Regions from separate parts of the Homo sapiens genome. Here regions 1, 2 and 4 are each linked to region 3. The links are contacts of gene promoters, found by promoter capture Hi-C in human tissues and cell types (Jung and others, 2019). All regions are on one chromosome and are shown on one strand. Each heading gives the region's core, a stretch centred on a gene start or on the middle of the fragment in contact. The rest is flanking DNA. Distances are from core to core; before and after follow the strand shown. Region 1 overlaps DISP3 (dispatched RND transporter family member 3). Region 2 overlaps MTHFR (methylenetetrahydrofolate reductase). Region 3 holds the start of FBXO6 (F-box protein 6). Region 4 has its middle 66 kb from the start of DISP3.

What was found. Contacts are between HindIII fragments. The study calls those that stand out against the background at their distance.
Region 1: a contact is called between a fragment that was not itself captured here and the fragment with the promoter of FBXO6 in region 3, in 1 of the 25 tissues and cell types used here (adrenal gland).
Region 2: a contact is called between a fragment that was not itself captured here and the fragment with the promoter of FBXO6 in region 3, in 2 of the 25 tissues and cell types used here (dorsolateral prefrontal cortex and spleen).
Region 4: a contact is called between a fragment that was not itself captured here and the fragment with the promoter of FBXO6 in region 3, in 3 of the 25 tissues and cell types used here (mesendoderm cells, neural progenitor cells and thymus).

Annotation. Positions count from the first base shown.
Region 1 is chr1:11,522,595-11,529,648 of GRCh38, reverse strand. It overlaps DISP3 (dispatched RND transporter family member 3), which reads right to left. Exons shown (of 21, transcript NM_020780.2): 11 at 5,594-5,707; 12 at 4,337-4,473; 13 at 2,814-2,998; 14 at 1-93. Among named protein-coding and RNA genes, the nearest start is that of DISP3, 47 kb to the right of the region's middle. The HindIII fragment of the contact is 5,869 bases long and covers 424-6,292 here.
Region 2 is chr1:11,795,748-11,799,749 of GRCh38, reverse strand. MTHFR (methylenetetrahydrofolate reductase) reads left to right here. Exons shown (of 12, transcript NM_005957.5): 5 at 3,351-3,544. Among named protein-coding and RNA genes, the nearest start is that of MTHFR, 8.2 kb to the left of the region's middle. The HindIII fragment of the contact is 7,275 bases long and covers 1-4,002 here.
Region 3 is chr1:11,661,366-11,666,370 of GRCh38, reverse strand. FBXO6 (F-box protein 6) reads right to left here and starts at 2,171. Exons shown (of 6, transcript NM_018438.6): 1 at 2,116-2,171. FBXO44 (F-box protein 44) reads right to left here. Exons shown (of 6, transcript NM_033182.7): 6 at 3,044-5,005. RefSeq lists an enhancer at 1,596-1,645 and silencers at 1,766-1,835, 1,886-2,105. The HindIII fragment of the contact is 9,200 bases long and covers 1-4,182 here.
Region 4 is chr1:11,409,948-11,416,754 of GRCh38, reverse strand. No RefSeq gene overlaps it. Among named protein-coding and RNA genes, the nearest start is that of DISP3, 66 kb to the left of the region's middle. RefSeq lists an enhancer at 1-502. The HindIII fragment of the contact is 9,718 bases long and covers 1-6,807 here.

The DNA.
Region 1 (7,054 bases), core at 2,109-4,608, 140 kb after region 3:
CCATCGGGGCTGGAGCTAAGCAGGCAGCCAGGGGGTGCCATGCATACGCGCCCGTGGAAGGGGGGCTTGTGGGACTGGGCGAAGTACAGCTTCCTGTGGAGGGAATGGAGGCTGGGCTGAGGCCGGAAAGGCTAGGAGGAGTCAGGGGAGGTGAGGCCAGCAGGCCAGGGTTGGGACTGGGGCTGGGGTGTCATGGGGTCTGGACTCGGGCTCTGCCCCGGCATGGGGATTTGTTCTCAGGTTGAGGGCTGGGGGATGTGCCCTGGGCTGGGGGTCTGGAGGCTGTTCTAGCCCTGCCCCTGCCAAGGCTGACTATGGGAACCTAGTAAAGGCCCTGCCCCTCTGGGTCTCAGTCTCCCCATAGGAGTCATGAAGGGTGGAGAAGACCAGCAGCTTTCAAACTGTCCCCCGGGGGTACGAGGGTTCAGGAGGGACCCCCAGGGCCAACCCTAGTGGTCCTCGCTCAGAAGCCCCCAGCCTTGCCTCAACCCCAACAGTTAGGGAGTCTCTAGATTCTATAGGAAGGAAGGGCTCCAGTGTCAACAGCTGGCTAACCACTAGACCCAGTGCAGCTCAAAGTTCTTTCTAGAATGTTTCCAGCTCATCCAGGCAGCCTGCCTGACCCCTGGCCCACTGATGTGTCTGTGCAGAGTGAGCCCAGCCTGGGGCTCAGGGGAGGACAGGCAGAGGGGCCCCCACCCCCGAGTCAGGGTCCCAGGCTGGAAGGGACCCAGTGGGTGGCTGTCCTGCCATTCCCTGGCCTCCAAGCTGCAGCCCTCAGCCCCATGCAGAGTTCAGGCTCCTGTGGGTGTTTGACACTCCAAAGCTAGCCCCGTCAGAGACCAGTCTCCATGTGTCACTGAGCCCCATCGGAGACCACAGTCCCCGTGCATCACCAAGTTCTGTCAGAGACCACAGTGCCTGTGTGTCACCGAGCCCCGTCAGAGACCACAGTCCCCGCGTATCACCGAGTTCTGTCAGAGACCACAGTCCCTGTGTGTCACCGAGCATGGCCTTGTACCACTGTTCTCCACAATGACAGTGGGGCTATTTCTTTCAGAGCACGTATCATAGTTTGTAATGATATCGCTGTTTACTTGTTAGTGGCCTGTCTCCCACTAGACAGCTCGAGGGCAGGAGTCACATCTGTCTTTGTCACTACCATATCCCTAGCACAGTGCCAGCACAGTTGAAGCCCACAGTTTGTTAAATCAGTGAACGGCAGAGAGAGGAGACCTTTGGCTAATATGGCCTCCACAGATAAATGGATGCAGGGCTGTGTTTACAACATGGGGAATGAAACCCCAGAAAAGGTGCCCCTGGATGGCGTGGAGATCCCGAGAGCACAGAATGCAGCCTCTGACTCGGCATGTAGTAGGGACCCGACTTCACACTGGGTGCTAGCAGGGACTGGGCCTGTGGCAAGTGAATACAACAGGGGCCCTCCCCTCGCTCTCCTTCCAGCAGAAGGGGCAGGGGCATTAAATAAACATTTTCTGAATTAATGATATATTTAGAGTGTGGGTGAGTGCCTTGTCAAGGAAGTGTGGAGTGTACTCATTCATTCATTCAGCAAGTACTTATTTGTACCTACTACGCCAGACACCCGTGACAGGTGCTGGGGAGGCGGCACCAAATGAGACGGCCAAGGTGCTACCACAGGATGCCTGTGTGCTCCTGTGGGAAGACAGGTAACACTGCAGGTCAGCATGGTGGCAGGTGGCAATGGGGCCAGGAGAGCAGTGGGTGACGTATGGAGAGAGGCTGGATGTGGCACTTGGAGAGGGACAGCCTCTCCCAAGAGGTGACTTTTGGACAGGGACTTGAATCTTGAGAAGTTGTCTCACACTTGAGGAGCTGGGAAAAGCATTCTAGGCACAGAGAGCAGTAAATGCAAAGGGCCTGAGATGGAAAGGGGCCTGGTATGCCAGAGGGACAGCCAGGTGGCCACTGCAACCCCTGAGGAGCTATCAAGGTGGGGAGCAGCTCCCGGGCCCGTCTCTTTGCCAATGTTCTCCACTCCCCAGCCCTGGGCAGAGACCCATCTGAGCAGGTAGGTGGAAATGGACAGCAGTTTCTTTTTCTCTTTTTTTTTTTTTTTGAGATGGAGTCTCGCTCTGTTGCCCAGGCTGGAGTGCAGAGGCGCGATCTCGGCTCACTGCAACCTCTGCCTCTGGGTTCAAGTGATTCTCCTGCCTCAGCCTCCTGAGTAGCTGGGATTACAGGTGCGTGCCACCATGCCTGGCTAATTTTTTGTATTTTTAGTAGAGAAGGAGTTTCACTGTGTTAGCCAGGATGGTCTCGATCGGCTGACCTCGTGATCCGCCCACCTCGGCCTCCCGAGGTGGGATTACAGGCATGAGCCACCGCACCTGGCCAGCAGTTTCTTAAAGGAGTCTGCTGGCATCCCTCAGGGCTGGGTGCAGTGGCTCACGCCTGTAATCCCAGCACTTTGGGAGGCCAAGGCAGGTGAATCACCTGAGCTCAGGAGTTTAAGACCAGCCTGGCCAACATGGCAAAACCCCATCTCTACTAAAAATACAAAAATTAAGCAGGTACCAGTGGTGGTGCATGTCTGTAATCCCAGCTACTCAGGAGGATGAGGCAGAAGAATCACTTGAACCTGGGAGGCAGAGGTTACAGTGAGCCAAGATTGTGCCACTGCACTCCAGCCTGGGCAACAGAGTAAGAAAAAAAAAAAAAAGTGAGGGGGCCTGCTGGCATCCCTCATGTGAAAAGAGAGAGAAAAGAGAGAAAAGGGCAAAGAAGCAGCCGGGCTGATGGGCACCGGCTTGTCTGCCAGGCTCTGTTACCGGGTGTGCTGCTGCTCCTTGGTGGCCACGTAGAAGCTGAAGTCAAACTTCCAGCCCCGCTTGGCATCACAGGCCAAGGTCGTCAGCATCCACTTGCGGGAGGGGCTCGCCGCCTGGAGCAGCCCTACTGTAGACATACAAGCGGTCAGCTTCTTGGTGAAGTTACCAAAAGGCGCTCTATACACCTAAGCAGTGGGTTGACAGAGACAAGACACATGACTCGGGGGGGCTGCCTCGGCCTGGGCCAGCCTCAGGCTCCGTCCCCTCCCTCCTCGGCATAGTTCACCCTGTCCCAGTCCTCGGAGTTGGGGACAGAGCCCTGGGCAGAGGCTTGGGAGGCCTGGGTTTGAGTTCAGCACTTGGGCAAATCCCTTCCTCCCTCTCTGAGCCTTGTTTCTTCCTTCAACAATCATTCACTGAGTGTCTGTCCCATGCCAGGCACTGTGCCAGGCTCTGAGGGGCACGGTCCCTGACCTCTTGGAGCTGGCAATGATGATGGCTTCCAAGAATAAGGAAGACAAGACAGGATAAATGGCAGGGAGAGGAGGGCAAGGCGAGAAAGGCGCCGGGGCAGGGCTCTGTGGGGACCAACAGGCATGTTGAGACCTGAACGAGCACCTAGGAGTCAGCCACGCACGAAGCTGAAGGAAAAGCTTTTCAGGCAGTGGGAACTGCACATGCGAGGCTTAGAGGCAGGAAAAGCCTCAGAGACCTCATCTTCCAAATGGAAATATAAATCCTGAACAAATGAATTGGCGCGTGTCCCTGTCACCATGGAGGGTGTGTACCACGTTAAAGAAACACAAATGAGCCTGGGCTACACAGAGAGACCCTGTCTCTACAAAAAATAAAAGATAAAATTAGCTGGCATGGTGGTGTGTGCCTGTGGTCACAGCTACTCAGGAGGCTGATGAGAGAGGATCGCTTGAGCCCAGGAGGTCGAGGCTGCAGTGAGCTATGATCATGCCACTGCACTCCAGCCTGGGTGACAGAGCAAGCCCCTGTCCTCCCCCCACCCCCAAGAAAAAGAAAAGAAACACAAATGACTCCCATGAAGGGGAAAACTCAAGTCTGGGCTCGGGGACTCCTTTCTGCAGCGCTGGAGCAGCTACCAAGGACAGCAAGATTCCTGGCCGCCACTGCCTGAGGAGGGACTGCACCCAGGCGTTCTGCACGGCACAGGCCTCACCTCACACCCCTCCAACAATGCTGGCTGGTGCTTGTTGCATCCCCATGTCACAGATGAGGAAACTGAGGCTCAGAGAGTAAGTAATCTGCCTAAAGACACACAGTTAATAAATGGCAGAGCCAGGATTTGAATCCAGGCCTGGCTGACTCAGAAGCCCACGCTGCTACCACTCGGCAGGTCCCTGTCACAGACATGGCTGGTTTAGGGGAGGGGGGTCTTCATCCTCAAAGCTGCTTCTCCCTCCCTATTGGCCAGGGCTGCCCACCAGTGTGGCCCTGAGAGCCCCCCACCACCCACAGTGGTGGCGGCTCACTTCACGACAGCCCAGGCTCACCTGGAAGGAGGGCACCTCTCCATCCCCAGGCGACACAGCCTGCCAAGGAGCAGGCAGGCTGGCATTGAGGGAGAGCCTGTAGACAGCGGGGTGGCCTTGACTCTTCACTTTAGAGATGTACACGGTGCCTGGGAAATCTACGGACAAATAAGGGATGAAAGAGGGGTGGACTTGACCTCGACTGGCTTCTCCTGACCCTGGAGCAGCCCACCCTCAGCTCTGTCGACTAACGAGCTCAGTCCTGGCCTTGGGCTCATCTCAAAATGCTGGCTGTGCCCCTCTCTACTGGACCAGGTCCATGGCAATAATAGTGGGGGAGGTGGTGGGCACAGGATGGGGTGGCAGGGATGGTGGGGGAGGTGGTGAGGGAGATAGTGGGCACAGAGATGGGGTGGCAGGGATGGTGGGGGAGATAGTGGGCACGGGGATGGGGTGGCAGAGATGGTGGGGGAGATAGGCACAGGGATGGGGTGGCAGGGATGATGGGGGAGATGGTAGGCACAGGGATGGGGTGGCAGGGATGATGGGGGAGATGGTAGGCACAGGGATGGGGTGGCAGGGATGGTGGGGGAGATGGTAGGCACAGGGATGGGGTGGCAGGGATGGTGGGGGAGGTGGTAGTCACTGGGATGGGGTGGCAGGGATGGTGGGCACAGGGATGGGGTAGGAGGGATGGTGGGGGAGGTCGTGGGCACTGGATGGGGTGGTAGGGATGGTGGGGGAGGTGGTAGTCACTGGGATGGGGTGGACTAGATAGCGGAGGTGACAGTGATGGAGGGCATCCTGCTGAAAATGTGCTAGTGTTGGTACAGGGCTGGTGCTGGGAGTGACAGTAGTAGGAGAGAGGTGGCAACAGTGCCATAGGGTGACAGGGACAGACACAGCTGCCTGATGGGGCATTCATTCCCCCAGTACACTTGACCCAGCACCCACCTCTGAGGGAGACTCCAGCAGGGACAAGCCAGTGTTCAGGGCCCAGGATGCCCACCTCTGCCCCTGGACACTCAGGGTGGCTTTGGTGCACAGGGAGGCTCTGGGGGCACCACAGACCAGGGTGTCGCGGGAGCCTACTGTCCTGGCGGGATGGGAGGTGAGGGCCCCAAATTCACCCCCCATCCCCAGCTCCTCTGCAGTGACCAGGAACACACAATCTCCTTCTTGAAGGAGAATCCAGAAGGAATTTTATCTGCTCTCCTTACAGGGCCTTCAACCCTAGCACCAGGGAGGATTTCCCCACCCTCCACCCCCAGTGCTCACCCTGCAGGGTGGCCTCAGGCCGGCTAGCCCAGGGGACCCCTGAGCCTCGCCTCTTCTTCTCCAGGGACGTCCGGATGTTGTTCTGCAGGCTGTGGGGCTTCTCCTGGAACAGACCTGCCCCCCAGCGCCATGTCAAGGACAGCAGGACAGCAGGACATCCTGGCCTGGGCCCGATGGGCAGAGGGAAGAGGCTGGGATCTGAGACAGTCTCAGGAACTGGGGCCCAGGGACTGGAGGGGGTGGGTGTCAGGGGTCAGAAAGAAACTAGAAAGAACTTTTAAAAAATCAAATACCAAATTTATAGGAATTTTAGGCCCAGAGAAAGGCACCATCAGCCTGCCCAGAGAAAAACACTGAAACGCTCCCTGCTCGCCCTCTCTGTGCCACTCTGCCCCCTGCTTGCTGTCTCTGTGCCACTCTGCCCCCTGCTCGCCGTCTCTGTGCCACTCTGCCCCCTGCTTGCCATCTCTGTGCCACTCTGCCCCCTGCTCGCCCTCTCTGTGCCACTCTGCCCCCTGCTCGCCCTCTCTGTGCCACTCTGCCCCCTGCTTGCTGTCTCTGTGCCACTCTGCCCCCGCTTGCCCTCTCTGTGCCACTCTGCCCCCGTGCTCACCCTCTCTGTGCCACTCTGCCGCCTCTGTCGGGTGGAGATGATGCCACACTTCCCTCGGGGGTGGGACATCACATCCTCTGCATCCAATTAACAGGAGTGACTGTTAGAGTGACCCAAGGTCATCAGCTGGCAGACATGGTGGGAGACATATATTCCTGTTTTGCCTCAAGCGTTGTGTGTTAGCCCTTCCTTTGGGTTTTTTAAATTAGAAATGAGAGAACTACACCTTCAAAGTTTTAATCCTCACAGCCATCCTGAGGCTGTTCCCATGAACCCCACTTGATGGAGTGGAAAGCAGAGGTGAAAGGACCTGCCCAGGGAGGGACTTGCAGCCCCGCTGGGTTCTGGCCTCGCCTGCCCTTTGTAAAGCCGAAGCACTCTGCTGTACTCTGAAGGGGTCCCTCCAAGAGGCAGTTCCCAGAGGAAGAGGCACAGGGAGTAGGGGCTGGGCTCTGGCTGGGCTCCGGCTGGGTCCTGGCTGGGTCCTGGTTGGGCTCTGGCTGGGTCCTGGCTGGGTCCTTGCTGGGTCCTGGCTGGGCTCTGGCTGGGTCCTGGCTGGGCTCTGGCTGGGCTCTGGCTGGGTCCTGGCTGGGCTCTGGCTGGGTCCTGGCTGGGCTCTGGCTGGGTCCTGGCTGGGTCCTGGCTGGGCTCTGGCTGGGCCCTGGCTGGGTCCTGGCTGGGTCCTGGCTGGGTCCTGGCTGGGCCCTGGCTGGGCCCTGGCTGGGCCCTGGCTGGGTCCTGGCTGGGCCCTGGCTGGGCTCTGGCTGGGTCCTGGCTGGGCTCTGGCTGGGCCCTGGCTGGGCTCTGGCTGGGCTCTGGCTGGGTCCTGGCTGGGCTCTGGCTGGGTC
Region 2 (4,002 bases), core at 1,330-3,829, 130 kb before region 3:
TGAGCCAGGAGAATCTCTTGGACCCAAGAGGCGGAGGTTGCAGTGAGCCGAGATGGTGCCGCTGCAGTCCAGCCTCAGTGGCAGAGCAAGACTCCATCTCAAAAAAAAAAAAAAAACAACACCCCACAAAAGAGGGATATTTACTAACAGGATTCCAGAGGGCAGGGAACCCAAGATCAGGAGATGGCCTCAGACCTCACAAGGCACTGGAAGAGGTCAAAAAGCAAGGCCCTCCCTCATTCCCTCTGGGGCCACAGGGTCCCCCATCTCCGCTTCCCACTGCACATCTGTGCTTCATCTGGGAGACCTGATACCCATGCTTTTCCACACACCTGGCCTGCTCCTGAGTGTGCAGAGTGTCAGTTCCAGCCAGTTCCCCAGGCTAATGGACAGGCCTCCGTTCCAAATTCCCAGGAAAGAGAATCACCATTGGCCACAGCCACAAGACCAGGTTCCCCCAACAGAAATGGGTGGGTTGGACTTCTCTCCCACCCTTGAAGCTGAAGGCTGGCATTGAGCCCTCAGCGTCTCAGACAGCGCTCAGGTATGGCAAGACAGTGTGCACCAGGGACAGGAAGTCCCGGGATTGGCACATTTTCTGGGATGACAGTTTTTTTGCCAATATTCTGGGAGAAATCCTACCATTTTTATATTAAACATGGCTATGTTATGGAGTAGCATCTAAAGTGATATGAACTAAAAAAAAAAGGCCAGGTGCGGTGGCTGAAGCCTATAATCCCAGCACTTTGGGAGGCCAAGGCGGGTGGATCATGAGATCAGGAGTTTGAGACCATCCTGTCCAACATAGTGAAACCCCGTCTCTACTAAAAATACAAAAATTAGCCGGGCATGGTGGCGCGTGCCTGTAGTCCCAGCTACTTGGTAGGCTGAGGCAGGAGAATCGCTTGAACCCAGGAGGCGGAGCTTGCAGTGAGCCGAGATCGCACCAATGCACTGTAGCCTGGGCAACAGAGCCAGACTCCGTCTCAAAAAAAACAAAACAAAAAACCCAAAAAACAAACCACGTGGCTTCAAGAAAATTACATGTTGTGAGTAACTTTGGCCTTGTCCCTAACCCCCGATGGACATGTCCATTCTGTCAACAGGGGTGTTTAGGTGCTAAGTCTGGGAAGCACTGATTAGGAGTCAGAGAACAGACATTTCCAACTGTTAAATTGTCATCGCTTGTATCAGCCATTATATAGTCAGTTACTGGGGGAATATGCACCCGTGATGGGCGTTAGGTGATAATGATTGGAAACTAGTGAAGCTGTGAGCTCACAGTTGCTGAATGGTTTCTTACTTTGCTTATCAAGTGGGTAATGAAGATGAGTGGATTAGAAAACACCAACCTGTTGGGCATGGTAGCTCATGCCTGTAATCCCAGAGCTTTGGGAGACTGAGGCAGGAGATCAAGACCAGCCTGGGCAACACAGTGAGACCGTGTCTCTACAAAAAATAAAAACATTTTAAAAAAGAAAGCCCTCAGCTGTTCATGATAGAAAAATAGAGTAAATAGCAAAATCTATACGTAATCAAATGCTAGATTTGTTCGGTGATATTTAGGTATTGTAGCTATACTTTTCAGCTATTAAAAAGCCTTGTTGTTTCTGAAATTCCTACTGGGAAAATAGCTTTGTTATTGCAAGTGTGAAGCCCCATTGCTTTATCCCCCACTCCCTTACCCCTTGAAACAATAGTTTTTATATTCATTTTTTGATGACTCTGGGTTTCTTAAGAACGGAACTGCCTTATCAGAGCAAAGCAGCTTGGCCTTCCGCCTGGCTCAGAGTCCTGCCCTGGGCTTGGGCTGATGAAACCAGCACTCCATGTAGTTTCATGAAGGCCTATGGTCATCCTGCTTGCCTGACCGAGCAAGGCGGCTAGTAAGTTTAGTCATTGAGGAAAGGGGTCAGAGAGTTCACAGAGCCAGTAAGGAGCCTATGGGACATCTGATCCCACCTCCTAAGCAATTCTGGAATCTTGTCTTCAGCATCCACTGCCCCTGTGTTTTCAGACTCCAGGAGCTCATTGTTTTGTGAGTGGCTTATAGTACTCTAGCCAGCTCTCTGAACCGGATGCTGGTTCTGCCATTAGAAACAACACAGAATATGACTAATAAAGAACTTCACTAGGGGGCTGGGTACAGTGGCTCATGCCTGTAATCTCAGCACTTTGGGAGGCCAAGGTGGGAGGATTGCTTGAGCCCAGAAGTTCCAGACAAACCTGGACAAGATAGCAAGACCCCATCTCTAAAAAATAAATAATTAATTAAAAAAATTTTTTTTAATTAGCCAGATGTGGTGGCTTGCATCTGTAGTCCAAGCTACTCAGGAGACTGAAGTGGGAGATCACTTGTGCCCGGGAGTTCAAGGCTACAGTGAGCCATGATTGTATCACTGCACTCTAGCCTGGGTGACAGAGCAAGACCCTGTCTCTGAAACAAAACAAAACAAACTCACCTATGGTGGATCCTTTTTCCCCAGGACAGACCTTTGGACATTTGAAAGGAGTTTCTGTATTCTTTTCATTCTTTTTTTTTTTTTTTTTTTTGAGACGGAGTTTCGCTCTCGTTGCCCAGGCTAGAGTGCAATGGTACGATCTCGGCTCACTGCAACCTCTGTCTCGTGGGTTCAAGCAATTTTCCTGACTCAGCCTCCTGAGTAGCTATTACAGGCATACACCACCACACCTGGCTAATTTTTGTATTTTTGGTAGAGACGGGGTTTTACCATGTTGGCCAGGCTGGTCTCGAACTCCTGACCTCAGGTCATCCTCCTGCCTTGGCCTCCCAAAGTGCTGGGATTACAGACATGAGCCACCGCACCCTGCCATCCATTATTTTCTTTGAAGAAAACATCACTTTCTTCAGTTCTTCCTTGTGTAACTTGGTTTTTAGCTTTTCACTATCTTGGACCCCTGAGTAATTTCAGTGTTACATTAAAAACAATGTTTAATCCGGTGCCTAGAGAAAAGTCAAGCTTACTACCCCAGATGCTGCCCAGCCAGTGCTAACTGTAGCATTTTCTCTTTTCTATGGCCACCAAGTGCAGGCCTGATTTGCTTGGCTGCTCAAGGCAGGACAGTGTGGGAGTTTGGAGCAATCCACCCCCACTCTTGGAACTGGGCTCTGAGCCACCTCCCCTGAGAGTCATCTCTGGGGTCAGAAGCATATCAGTCATGAGCCCAGCCACTCACTGTTTTAGTTCAGGCTGTGCTGTGCTGTTGGAAGGTGCAAGATCAGAGCCCCCAAAGCAGAGGACTCTCTCTGCCCAGTCCCTGTGGTCTCTTCATCCCTCGCCTTGAACAGGTGGAGGCCAGCCTCTCCTGACTGTCATCCCTATTGGCAGGTTACCCCAAAGGCCACCCCGAAGCAGGGAGCTTTGAGGCTGACCTGAAGCACTTGAAGGAGAAGGTGTCTGCGGGAGCCGATTTCATCATCACGCAGCTTTTCTTTGAGGCTGACACATTCTTCCGCTTTGTGAAGGCATGCACCGACATGGGCATCACTTGCCCCATCGTCCCCGGGATCTTTCCCATCCAGGTGAGGGGCCCAGGAGAGCCCATAAGCTCCCTCCACCCCACTCTCACCGCACCGTCCTCGCACAGGCTGGGGGCTCTGGGTGGAGTGCTGAGTTCGCTGAGTTCTTCCCAGATCTCCTCTCAGGTCCAGAACTTGCACAGCGTTGCTTGGCCACCCCATTTTGGTTACCTCTAATTTTCCCCCCAAAACCCAGCAACAGTGTCTGTTGAGGGGTTTGTTGTACTTTGGCCAACAAGCATCACCAAAAGGGATTCTAATTCTCATTACAAATCCTGCTTAAATCAGTGTTTCCCAAAGGTGGCTGTCATCAGAACCACTTGATAAGCTTTTTCAAAAAGTGGATCTCCAGGTCCCACCCCTGGAGGTTCTCACTCAGTAAATCTGAGGGAGGTCCTCGGAATGTGTGTTTTACTTCTTGAGCTTGGCAGGTGATTCGGATGATCAGTGCAGCATGGGAA
Region 3 (5,005 bases), core at 922-3,421:
CTTTGCAACCTTGGCAACACAGGGAGGCCCCGTCTCTATAAATAGTGAAAAAATTCGCCGGGCATAGTGGCGAGTGCCTATGGTCCTAGCTACTTGGGAGGTTATGGCGTCAGGATCTTCTGAGCCCAGGAGGTCAAGGCTGCAGTAGCTCACAGGTGTGAGCCACCGAACCCAGCCCCTCAGATTTTTCTACCTTACAGTCCATGAGGCCTGCCGAGGTCACACTCTAGGGAAAGAAGGAGCCTGCTGGAGCAGAGTGAGCCATGATTGCTCCATGGCACTCCAGCCTGGGCAACAGAGCAAAACTGTCTCAAAAAAAAAAAAAAAAAAAAAGAGAAAAGAAAAATGCTTTGATGGAAAAAAAAAATAACAAAAAAACCCAATGTGGCCAAGTCTTCTAAGTTCTGAGAAGCAACTGTAAGCATTTGAAAAAAAATGTAAAAGTTGTCAATTAAAAATGCTTGTAGTCTAGGCAACATAGTGAGACTCTGTCTCTAGAAAAAAAGAAATTAGGTCGGGTGCACAGACTCAGGCCTGTATTCCCAGCACTTCGGTAGGCCGAGGCGGGCGGATCACAAGATCAGGAGTTCGAGACCAGCCTGGCCAATATGGCGAAACCCCGTCTCTACTAAAAATACAAAAATTAGCTGGGCGTGGTGGCGGACGCCTGTAGTCCCAGCTACTCGGGAGGGTGAGGCAGGAGAATCACCTGAACCCGGGAAGCGGAGGTTGCAGTGAGCCGAGATCGTGCCACTGCACTCCAGCCTGGGCAACAGAGTGAGAATCTGTCTCAAAAAAAAAAAAAAAAAAAAAAAAGGCCGGGCGCGGTGGCTCACGCCTGTAATCCCAGCACTTTGGGAGGCCGAGGTGGGCGGATCACGAGGTTAGGAGATCGAGACCGTCCTGGCTAACACAGTGAAACTCCATCTCTACTAAAAATACAAAAAATTAGCCGGGCTTGGTTGCAGGTGCCTGTAGTCCCAGCTACTCGAGAAGCAGGTGCCTGTAGTCCCAGCTACTCGGGAGGCTGAGGCAGGAGGACGGCCTGAACCCGGGAGGCGGAGCTTGCAGTGAGCTGAGATCGCGCCACTGCACTCCAGCCTGGGCGACAGAGCGACACTCCGTCTCAAAAAAAAAAAAAAAAAAAAAAAAAAAGAAATTAGCTAGGCCTGGTGGCCCGTGCCTGTAGTCCCAGCTATGCAGGAGGCTGAGGCAGGAGGAACGCTTGAGCCCAGGAAGTCGAGGCTGCAGTGAGCCGTGATCATGCCACTGCACTCCAGCCTGGGTGACAGAGCAAGACTCTGCCATAAATAAATAAATAAATAAATGCTGGCAGCTTCTAAAGGCACTGTCTAGACTCTAGACGAAATAAAAGTCACTGGGCTCCAAGCTAGAGGCATCTAGGCACCAATAGCTTCCCACCGTGGTGACCGAAGTCTGGTCTCTGGCCCAGTCCGCATTTTCTTGCGCCCCTTCCCCCCCCCGGCCCTGGGCATTTTGTGGTGGGGAAGTCCATGCCAGCCCTAGGAAGCCCTCTCACACCGATCGGGGTCCCCAACTGCCCGGCCCGGCGTCTCGTGCTCGCCTTCTCCGCACCCACCCTCCCAGCAAGCTCTAGTGGCATTGTTACTTCACCGGTTTCTCGGAAACAGAAACTGTGGCTGGGGCAAGGCAAGCGCCGGATCTCGCAGGCGTGTGGGGGCCTGGAGGTCCCTTGACAGTTCTCCGAACCCGGCGCCGGCCTCGGGATGTGGCCGGGGTGGAGGCGGCCGCAGAGCCTCCGCCTGGGTGGCCCCGGGGCCAGGCCCCCAGTCGAAGTCCGGGCCCAGCCGCCCGCGCCCCCCACCCCTGGCCGCCCGGACCAGCGCCCGCAGGCTCCGTGAACGCCCAGGCGCCGGAGACCCCGGCTCCCCACTCGCCCGCCGCCCGTCCCCCCGGGGACGCGACCTGGGCGCAGCGGCGGAGCTCCAGGTCGGCCCGAGCCTACGGCCTCGGCTTCGTTGTCGCTGGGCCCCGCCGCCGCGTCACGCGCTGCGCTCGGTCCCCACCCCCGCCCCGGACCCCGCTGCCGTCCCTCTCGGCCCGGCCCCTAACCCTCGCCGCGGGAAGACGAACCTGGGATCCCCAGGGCCCGGGCCCTCGCTGCGGCCTGCGTGTCCTGAAGCTGTCTCCCCCTCCAGGCGGCGGGCGGCTCAGCACCCACACCTGCACCCGCCTCCTACGCAGGGCCGAAGCTCCCGAACGCGCGGCCGCTCCCCGGACCTCCGCACTAGTTCCTTCCTTATGCGGCCCAGGGCTCCACCCTTGACCCGCGGTCCCCTCCCTAGAGGCAGGACCTGACACCCAGTGGGCTCCTTCTTTCCCTAGGGCGTGACCTCCGCAGGCTTCATAGACTCAAAGGTAAAAAACCTGAGGTGCTAGGAGGTGGCTAACGCCTGTGATCCCAGCACTTTGGGAGGCCGAGGTGGGGAGGATCGCTTGAGGTCAGGAGTTCGAGACCAGCCTGGCCAACATGGCAAAAACCCTGTCTCTACTAAATATACAAAAATTAGCCGGGCGTGGTGGCACAGGTCTATAATCCCAGCTCCTCCGGAGGCTGAGGTGGGAGAATCGCTTGAACCTGGGAGGCTGCAGTGAGTGGAGACTGTACCACTGCACTGCAGCCTGGGCGACAGAGCCAGACCTTGTCTCAAAAAATAAAAAACCTCTGAGGTTTTTTATCAGGATTAAGTTCATGAATTTCTTCCATCAGTCAACAAATATTTAGCAAGCACCTTGTTCAGGCAACCACCAAGGGTTGTGCAGGCTGTGTACTGCACAAGGGGACTGGCCCAGGACACATTAATTGCAGTCAGGGCTACATGTTCTCCGTGGAAGGCCGTCCTTTTGCAGTTTGCCATGGGCTGGTGGGTGGTGATCCTGCCCTGGCCAAAGCCCTTATCTAGCTCACCCTTGACTGAGATAGCTAAATGTGAGGAGTACTTATTGAGCACTGGATTATAGTCCATGTTCACACTGCTATAAAGAAATACCCGAGACTGGGTGATTTATAAAAGGAAAGAGGTTTAATTGACTTATAGTTCCATATGGCTGGGGAAGCCTCAAGAAACAATCGCTGGGCGCGGTGGCTCACGCCTGTAATCTCAGCACTTTGGGAGGTCGAGGTGGGTGGATCACGAGGTCAGGAGATTGAGACCACCCTGGCCAACATGGTGAAACTCCATCTCTACTAAAAATACAAACAAAATTAGCCGGGCATGGTGGTGGGCGCCTGTAGTCTCAGCTACTCCAGAGGCTGAGGCAGGTGAATGGCGCGAACCTGGGAGGCAGAGCTTGCAGTGAGCTGAGATTGCGCCACTGCACTCCAGCCTGGGCGACAGAGCGAGACTCCATCTCAAAAAAAAAAAAAAAAAAAAGAAAAGAAAAGAAAAAAGGAACTTACAATCATGGTGGTGGAAGGTGAAGGGGAAGCAACGACCTTCTTCACATGGCGGCAGGAGGGAGCCGGGGAAACCGTCACTTGTAAAACCATCAGATCTCGTGAGAACTCACTCACTATCATGAGAACAGCATGGGGGAAAACCGCTCCCATAATCCAATCACTTCCCACCAGGTCTCTCCCTAAACACCCAGGATTACCATTCAAGATGAGATGTGGGTGGGGACACAAAGCTTAACCATATCACGCACCAACTGTGTGCCAGGCACCATTCTAAATGCTTCGGCTTCATCCAATGTCCGTAAAGCTGTTGGCAAAGAGTAACACCAGGAGGCAGAGCCTGGGTGGCACTGCTGATCTGGCACAAGGTGGACTCAAGAGCTGCCCAGAGATGTCCACACACCCCAACCCCAGCCTGTGGCTGGGCCTCCAGAGGAAGCCAGCAGTACTGGACGGCTGCCAGGTGAGATACCTGCAGCTCACTGAGGGGTCTGCCCATGAACCTGTTTCTGTGATGGCCTGGTTCCTGAAATGCCAACCCCTCTGTACCTTAGACAGAAGCCATGCCATTGTACCATCTGCAGGTCCAGGCAGGACCACCTAAAGTCTGCCTTTCCTTCCAGAAACCACAGGGCACAGGTTAGACTGGGCACACCTTTTATTTGGCTGCATGCAGTAGGGCGAAGTCAGGAGAACACTGCTATCTTTCCAGCAGGACAAGAGGCAAGTTCCAAGGGTGGTTGGCTGGGAGACAGAGGTCTTGGGAATGGCAGTTCTAGGGGTGGGGTGGGGGCTTGGAATGCTCTCCAAGCCAGAGGGGGCCGGGCCTGGATTTGGGAGGTGGACAGGGGATTCTTCAAACCCCCTACCATACTCATCCAGGGCTCATGTGTCCAGCTGTCAGAGCAGGTCCCAATCCTGCTCCCCATCTACCCTGGGACATCCTGTACAGGATTCCCTCAGTCCTCTGGGAACCTAACCCCACCTGGTACCCATCTAGCTTCTGGGGCTCCACTGACAGTGAGGACAGTCCACACCCGACCTGGACCCCACCCCACCCTGGGTCTGTCCATCTCAGTCCCGGCCTGAGCCTCTGGGCCAAAGCCACCTCTTCTGAGCAGGCAGGCAGAGCGAGAGACTGGGAGCAGCAGACAGGGGCAGAGCACGGCCCATGAGCCCACCCTCCACTTCCCAGATTGGTCAGAGTTACATGGTCACCTCCCTGCACCTGCACCATCAGGGCAGCTGCAAGCTTGCCAGTTGTCTTGCCTGTCCCTGCTCCGAGGGTCAAAGAACACAGGTAGAATGGTCCCAGGAGGGGAAGGGAGAGACAGATCCAGGCTGGCCTCCAAGCTCGACTTTCTGAGGGGCCCAGGGGAACATGCTGCACCTCCCACATCTCAGGTGCTCCGTCTCTGAAAGGGGCACACGCAGGCTTCCCCGGCCATCATTCAGGTCAAGACCTTTCGGGGAGAGCTGGCCCGACCCCAGCATGCGAGGGCTGCCCACACTGAGAGGCTCCACAAAGAAGAGGCTGCTAGGGGCAAGGGTTAGAGGTCTGGGGAC
Region 4 (6,807 bases), core at 1,198-3,697, 250 kb after region 3:
TGCTGCGGCTGACGGGCCAGCAGGGGCCAGATCATAAAAGGTGCTATGGACCAAGGGGAGGAGCTGGAGCTTTGTCCCCTGGGCTGCTGCAGATGAGTGACTGGGGAGGCTTCCAGGAGACACACCTGAAGGGTAGCGAGCACAGCAGTACTGCCAGAGGGAAACTGATCCGAGATCACTGCAGGACTGGCCAGAGGGAGAAGCCGATCCTCAATCGTTGCCCCTAAGATCTGAGCTCATCCCGTGAAGGGCTCTGGACCTGGACTGGTCACTACAGAGGTCCCAAATAGAGGCAAGGGAACAGACGTTTGTATAGTTACATCTGTCATTGTCAGGGGGCCTGCAGGGAGGGGTGGGGTAGGGTGTGACATTGATCAAGACAGGTCTATAGGCCAAAGGCAATGCTCTGTGAGGGGCACAGTTTTGAGCTATCAGCAGCTTCTAATTCCAGCAGCTAGGGGTGGGTGCATGCCCTGGAAGAGGGAACCTGGGTGGAGACTGCAGTACCCGTTACACCTTGTGTGACTTGGAAAAGCCTCTTCTCCTCTCTGGATCTCAGGATCCACAACTGGAAAAAAAAAAAAGTTTGGGACCTGTGGTAGGCAGAACAATGTCCCAAAAGATGTCCACATCTTATTCCTGGAATGTGTGACTAGATGACCTTCCATGGAAAGAGTTTTTGCAGATTTGAGCGAATTAAGGACTGAGATGGGGAGATTATTCTGGATGGCCTGGGCGGATCCAGTCTAATCATCCAAGTTCTTAAAAAGGAGAACTTCTTTCTTCTGTGGAGATAGATATGGTCTTCCCGGCTTTGAAGATGGACAAAGAGGAATGATTCCAGGGATTCCAGTGGCCTCTAGAAGCTGGAGAAGGGAAGGAAACAGATTTTCCCCTAGAGCCTCCAGAAAGGTGTGCAGCTGTGCCAACACCTTGATTTTAGCCCAGTGAAATCCATGTCAGGCTTCTGACCTTCAAAACCATTAGGAAATACATTTGTGTTGCTTTAAGCCACTAAGTTTGGGGTGATTTGTTATAGCAGCCATAGGAAACTAATACTTAATCGAAGTCTAGGGGCAGCTCATGAGATCTGATGGATTGCAGACATGCACTACAGACCCTAGACCTGCATCGTCTGTCGAATTTTCTTTAATGATGATTCTGTTCTATGTCTGTGTTGTCCAATACACCAGCCACAGGCCACGTGTGGCTCTTGAGCACTTGAAACGTGGCTAATGCAGCCGAGCAACTGAATTTTTAATTTTCTTTGATATTAACTTAAATTGAAATAGTCACATATGGCCGGTGGCTACTACACTGGACAGAAAGTTCCATTAGACAGCGCAGCTTAGAGGCTGAGGACTGAAGTTCAGGGAAGAAACCGCCCGCAGCAAGAGGTCGGAGGTCCTCATCCTCTATTCACTTTGAAGAGTCCAGATATCTGCAGAACAGCTTTCTTTCCTCCACTCCCTCCAGTGGTCTGGCTAATTGGATAAGGACTTCCCCATATCTTTGTGGCCCCTGAAGTCCCTTACAGAGCCCCACTCTCCTCTGCTGTGCAGACGCGGGCAACTTGCCACCTTCGAGAGAAAGCTAAGTGTTGTCTGCAACAAGGCTGTGCCGGTCAGTGGCGCTGTTGGCGGCAGACATCTCAGAGAAGACGAGGCTCGGGCACAGCTGCCCTGGCCCAGGGCTGTCGTCTGTGGTTTGGAGAAAAGCGAGGCAGTTTCTCTTGGAGCTGGGCCGCAGATGGCACCCAGCTCCCAGCAGGGGCTCTGGATTTCTTGGAGCTAAAAGAATGTCCAACATTACTAAGAAGCAGCCTCGTATTCTCACAGTTATCTGCGACCCCTAGGAGGTCAGAGCAGCTGGAAAGGACCTCAGGATGTAACACCCTGAAAGCAAGGTGACACCCTCAGAATATCATTTTTCTGGGGGCGTCAATAGTTTAAACAGACTTTTTTTTTTGAAACGGAGTCTTGCTCTGTCACCCAGGTTGGAATGCAGTGGTGCCATCTCGGCTCACTGCAACCTCTGCCTCCTGGGTTCAAGCGATTCTCCTGCCTCAGCCTCCTGAGTAGCTGGGATTACAGGTGTGTGCCACTACACCCGGCTAATTTTTGTATTTTTAATAGAGACAGGGTTTCACCATGTTGGCCAGGCTGGTCTTGAACTCCCAACCTCAAATAACCAGTACTCGGCCTCCTAAAGTGCTGGGATTACAGGTGTGAACCACTGTGTCTGGCCTCAACAGGTTTTTAAAGGGGTCTGGGACCCCCCTAAAAAGTTAAGAAACACTCTGCCTCCTCATAGCCTTGTAGACTCCTCCCCTCTGCCCTCCAATCCCTCATCCCCCAGCTCTGCCTCCTAGAAATAGCTCCCCAGGCCTATTCCCCTGGGACCATTTTTCTCTCCCTCCCCTCCCCCACCTGCTCCAGCTGGGCCTCGCTCTCCTCCCTGCTCCTGACAAGGCTCGTCAATTCTGGAGGAAAAAGCCAGGCATCCTTTGTACTTCTTGGGGCAGACAAAGCAGGGTGAGGAGGGGAGCGCGTGTACAAACAGACTGATCTCCAGAAGAAAGGAATTACGCGAATTACAATTGATTTTCCACTGTTAATGAAGCATGAACCCGTGTGATTGCATCTTGAAAAGATTTATAATTATTCATTGAATCTTGGAAGATAATTAAACTTCATTAAACACAGACATGACAAGCTTTCAGAGCAAGCTGAGACCTCCATGCAAGGCTCCGCATTGGAGCAAGAGATACAAGGCTGGGCTCCAGTTGAGGAGGAGAAGGAGGAGGAGGGGGAGGAGGAGAAGGGGGAGAAGGAGGGAGGAGGAAAGAGGGAGGAGGGAGGAGGAAAGAGGGAGGAGGGAGGAGGAAAGAGGGAGGAGGAAAGAGGGAGGAGGAAAGAGGGAGGAGGAAAGAGGGAGGAGGGAGGAGGGAGAGCTATCACGAAAGAGTCTCAGCTAGAAATGCAGCCAATCTTGGGTCTTCCAATTTCTCTCCCTACCCTTTAGGGACACCTCCTGGGGAACCTCCACCTACTGCCACCCTCCCCTATCCATGCCCATGTCCCTCCCTCTCAGCAGAGGAGGAATACTGGGAAGGGTGAGGACAGCCTCTGCTGTCCTGCTGTGAATCCCTGCTGAGTCCAGCACCAGGGCCACGGCAGTGGCGGAGGGGGCTGGGGGAGGGAGGAAATGGAGGAGGGGAAAATAAAGGAAGGGTGGTGGGTCCCAAAGCGTGTGTGTGTGTGTGTGTGTGTGTGTGTGTGTGTGTGTGTGTGTTGCCCGCTTCGTGAGATTACAGATTCATGCCTTCTGGAAACCCTGCGGAAGGAGGAGGCTGCCAAACTGCTAACAGTGTTTACCTTGGTGGGGAGCAGAGAAAGCGGTGGGATAAAGGAGGGAGAGAATTTCACTTTTTCTCCATAATACGCTACTTTGGTGTTTAATCGCACAGTGGGTCGACCTAGATTCAGATACAACACGTGGTCGGCCATGTGCTTCACACCAATGTGTTGGCCCACGACGGCCACATAGATGACGGTGGTCCCGTAGGACGATAATACAATATATTTACTGTGCCTTTCTTATGTTCACATATGTTGTGATACACGAATACTACGGTGTTAGCAGCTGCCGAGAGCATTTGGGACACACACACTGTGCAGGTTTGCAGCCTAGGAGCAACGGGCTCTACCATAGAGCCTAGGTGTGGAATAGGCTACGCCATCTAGGTGTGTGTAAATACACGCTATGACGTTCACACAAGGACGAAATCACCTAATGATGCATTTATCAGCCTCTGACGCTGTCATTAGCAAAGCATGACTATAATTTAAAAAATTTTAAAATACATAAACCAGGATCTGTTCAGCACATATTCATGATTGAGGGCCAGGCTCTGAGCTAAGTGTGCTGGGGACAAAGACATGGCTCAGACCGCACTGGACCCTCCTCAGGGAGTGCACAGCAGTGTGCATGTGTGTGTGCGTGTATGTGTGCGTGTGCACTTATATGACACATGACTGGTCGGGCTGGTTGTAAAGACTATCGTAGGGAGGTGGCCTTGCTTCTGCCTTCCTGGGTAGGGGGCACCCAGGCTCCTCACCCTTTATCTATTCCAGGCCATCCCTCCCCATCCTTTGGGGTTCCCTTCTGAAGATGCCTCCCATCCCTCCACCCATCCTGATCCCTCTGCCAGGATTAAACCCACCCTCATGAATGATGCCATAAGACGTCTCCTCTTGTCAGGTATACAGCCCCACACTCACTGCCCCCTCCCCCTTCCCCGCCTCTCCAGGATCTCACTGTTTCCTGCCAAAATGACAGAAGGAAGGAATATTAATGGGGCTGCCCTCACCATGTCCTCTTCATTGAGCTGCTTTTTGGCAGGGAGTATGTCTTTCTAAGGACAGGCTGGGAGCCATGCCCCAGCATGGGGCTGGCCCAGATTTCATGGCAGGGCTAGGAGGTCACTGATGGGCCAGGTGGTTGAGGGGGAGTTAAAGATCGGGCAGGGCTGGGGGGAGTTGTATTCAAGGCAGGAGGGTGGAAAGGATGGTGGGGGTGGGGGGGCAATCCCTTAGCAAAGAGGCCAAGATCCCAGTCCTAAGCCAGATGGCCTACTTTCCAATTATGGTTCTGCCATCTTGCAACTATGCATCCTAGGGTAGGTTATTAACTTCTCCATGCCTCAGTTTCTTCATTGTGGGTTAATACTACTGCCCCTTCATGGGGTTGGCGAGAGCAGTCAATAAGATGATACATGCAGAGTACTGGGCACAGTGCCTGGCACAGCAGAGAACCTCAGTAAATGGCAGCAGTTGTTGTGTTTGTGTACAGACACACCTTGGAGATATTGTGGGTTCAGTTCCAGACGACTGCAACCAAGCAAGTATTGCAATAAAGCAAGTCATATAAATTTCTTGGTTTCCCAGTGCATGTACAAGTTACATTTACACTATACTGTAGTCTCTTAAGTGTGCAACAGAATTATGTCCAAAAAAACAATGTACAGACTTTAACTTTAAAATATTTTATTGCTAAAAAGTGCTACCAATCATCTGAGCCTTCACTGAGTCATCATCTTTTTGCTGGTGAAGGGTCTTGCCTGGATGTTGACAGCTGTTGACCAATCAGGGTGGCGGTTGCTGAAGGTTGGGATGTCTGTGGCAATTCCTTAAAATAAGACAACAATGAAGTTTGCACATTGATTGACTCTTCTTTTCATGAAAGATTTTCTCTGTAACATGTGATACTGTTTGATGATAGCATTTTTCCCATAGAACTTCTTTCAACATTGAAAACACTGCTGCTGCTTTATTAACTAAGTTTATGTAATATTCTAAATCCTTTGTTGTCATTTCAGCAATGTTCACAGTTCACAGTTCAATGTTCGCAGCATCTTCACCAGGAGTAGATTCAGTCTCAAGAAAATACTTTCTTTGCTCAGCCATAAGAAGCAACTCCTCATCTGTTCAAGTTTGATCATAAGATTGCAGCAATTCAGTCACATCTTCAGGCTCTGCTTCTAATTCTAGTTCCCTTGCTATTTCCACCACATCGGCAGTTCTTTCCTCCACTGAAGTCTTGAACCCCTCAAAGTCATCCATGAGGGTTGGAATCAACTTCTTCCAAACTCCTGTTAATGTGGATTTTTTACCTCCTCCCATTAATCACAAATGTTCTTGATAGAAAGGAGCATGGTGAATCCTTTCCAGAAGGTTTTCAATTTACTTTGCCCAGATCCATCAGAGGAATCACAATCTATGGCAGCTTTAGTGTTACAAAGTGCATTTCTTAAATGATAAGACTTGAAAGTGAAAATTCCTCCTTGATGCTAGTTTGCTGCAGAATGGATGCTGTGTTCGCAGGCATGAAAACATTAATCTCCTTGCACAACTCCGTCAGACCTCTTGGGTGACCAGGTGCCTCGTCCATCAGTGGTAATATTTTGAAAGGAATCTTTTTTTCTGAGCAGTAGGTCTTAAAAATGGGCTTAAAATATGCAGTAAACCATGCTGTAAACAGATGTGCTACCATCCAGACTTTGTTGTTCCATTTATAGTGCACAAGCAGAGTAGATTTAGCATAATTCTTTTTTTTTTTTTCCTTAAGATGGAGTTTTGCTCATGTTACCCAGCCCAGAGTGCAATGGCATGATCTTGGCTCACTGCAACCTCCGCCTCCCGGGTTCAAGCAATCCTCTTGCCTCAGCCTCCCAAGTAGCTGGGATTACAGGCACGCACCACCTTACCTGTCTAATTTTGTATTTTTAGTAGAGACAGGGTTTCTCCTTGTTGGTCAGGCTGGTCTCGAATTCCCAACCTCAGGTGATCTGCCCACTTTGGGCTCCCAAAGTGCTGGGATTACAGGCATGAGGCACTGCACCCGGCCTACTTAGCATAATTCTTAAGAGCTCTAGGATTCTCAGAATGGTAAATAAACATTGGCTTCTATTAAAGCCATCAGCTGCATTGGCCCCTAAAAATAGAGCCAGCCTTGAAGCCAGGCATTGACCTCCTCTCTAGCTAGGAAAAATTCCTAGATGCCATCTTTCTTCCAATAGAAGGCTGTTTCATCTGCACTGAAAATCTGTTGTTTAGTGTAGCCAAGGATCATCAAGTTTAGAGTCATCAAGGATCTTAACTGGAAGCCCAGCCCAGATTCAAGAAAAGGGTGTGAAATAGAGGTGCACTTAATTGGTGGGCGACTAGTCTAACAGCCAGTCACAACCAGTGCCATGTAAAACCAAGGATATCAGCATAAGCAGAAGTTGCTAGTGATCTTGGGAAG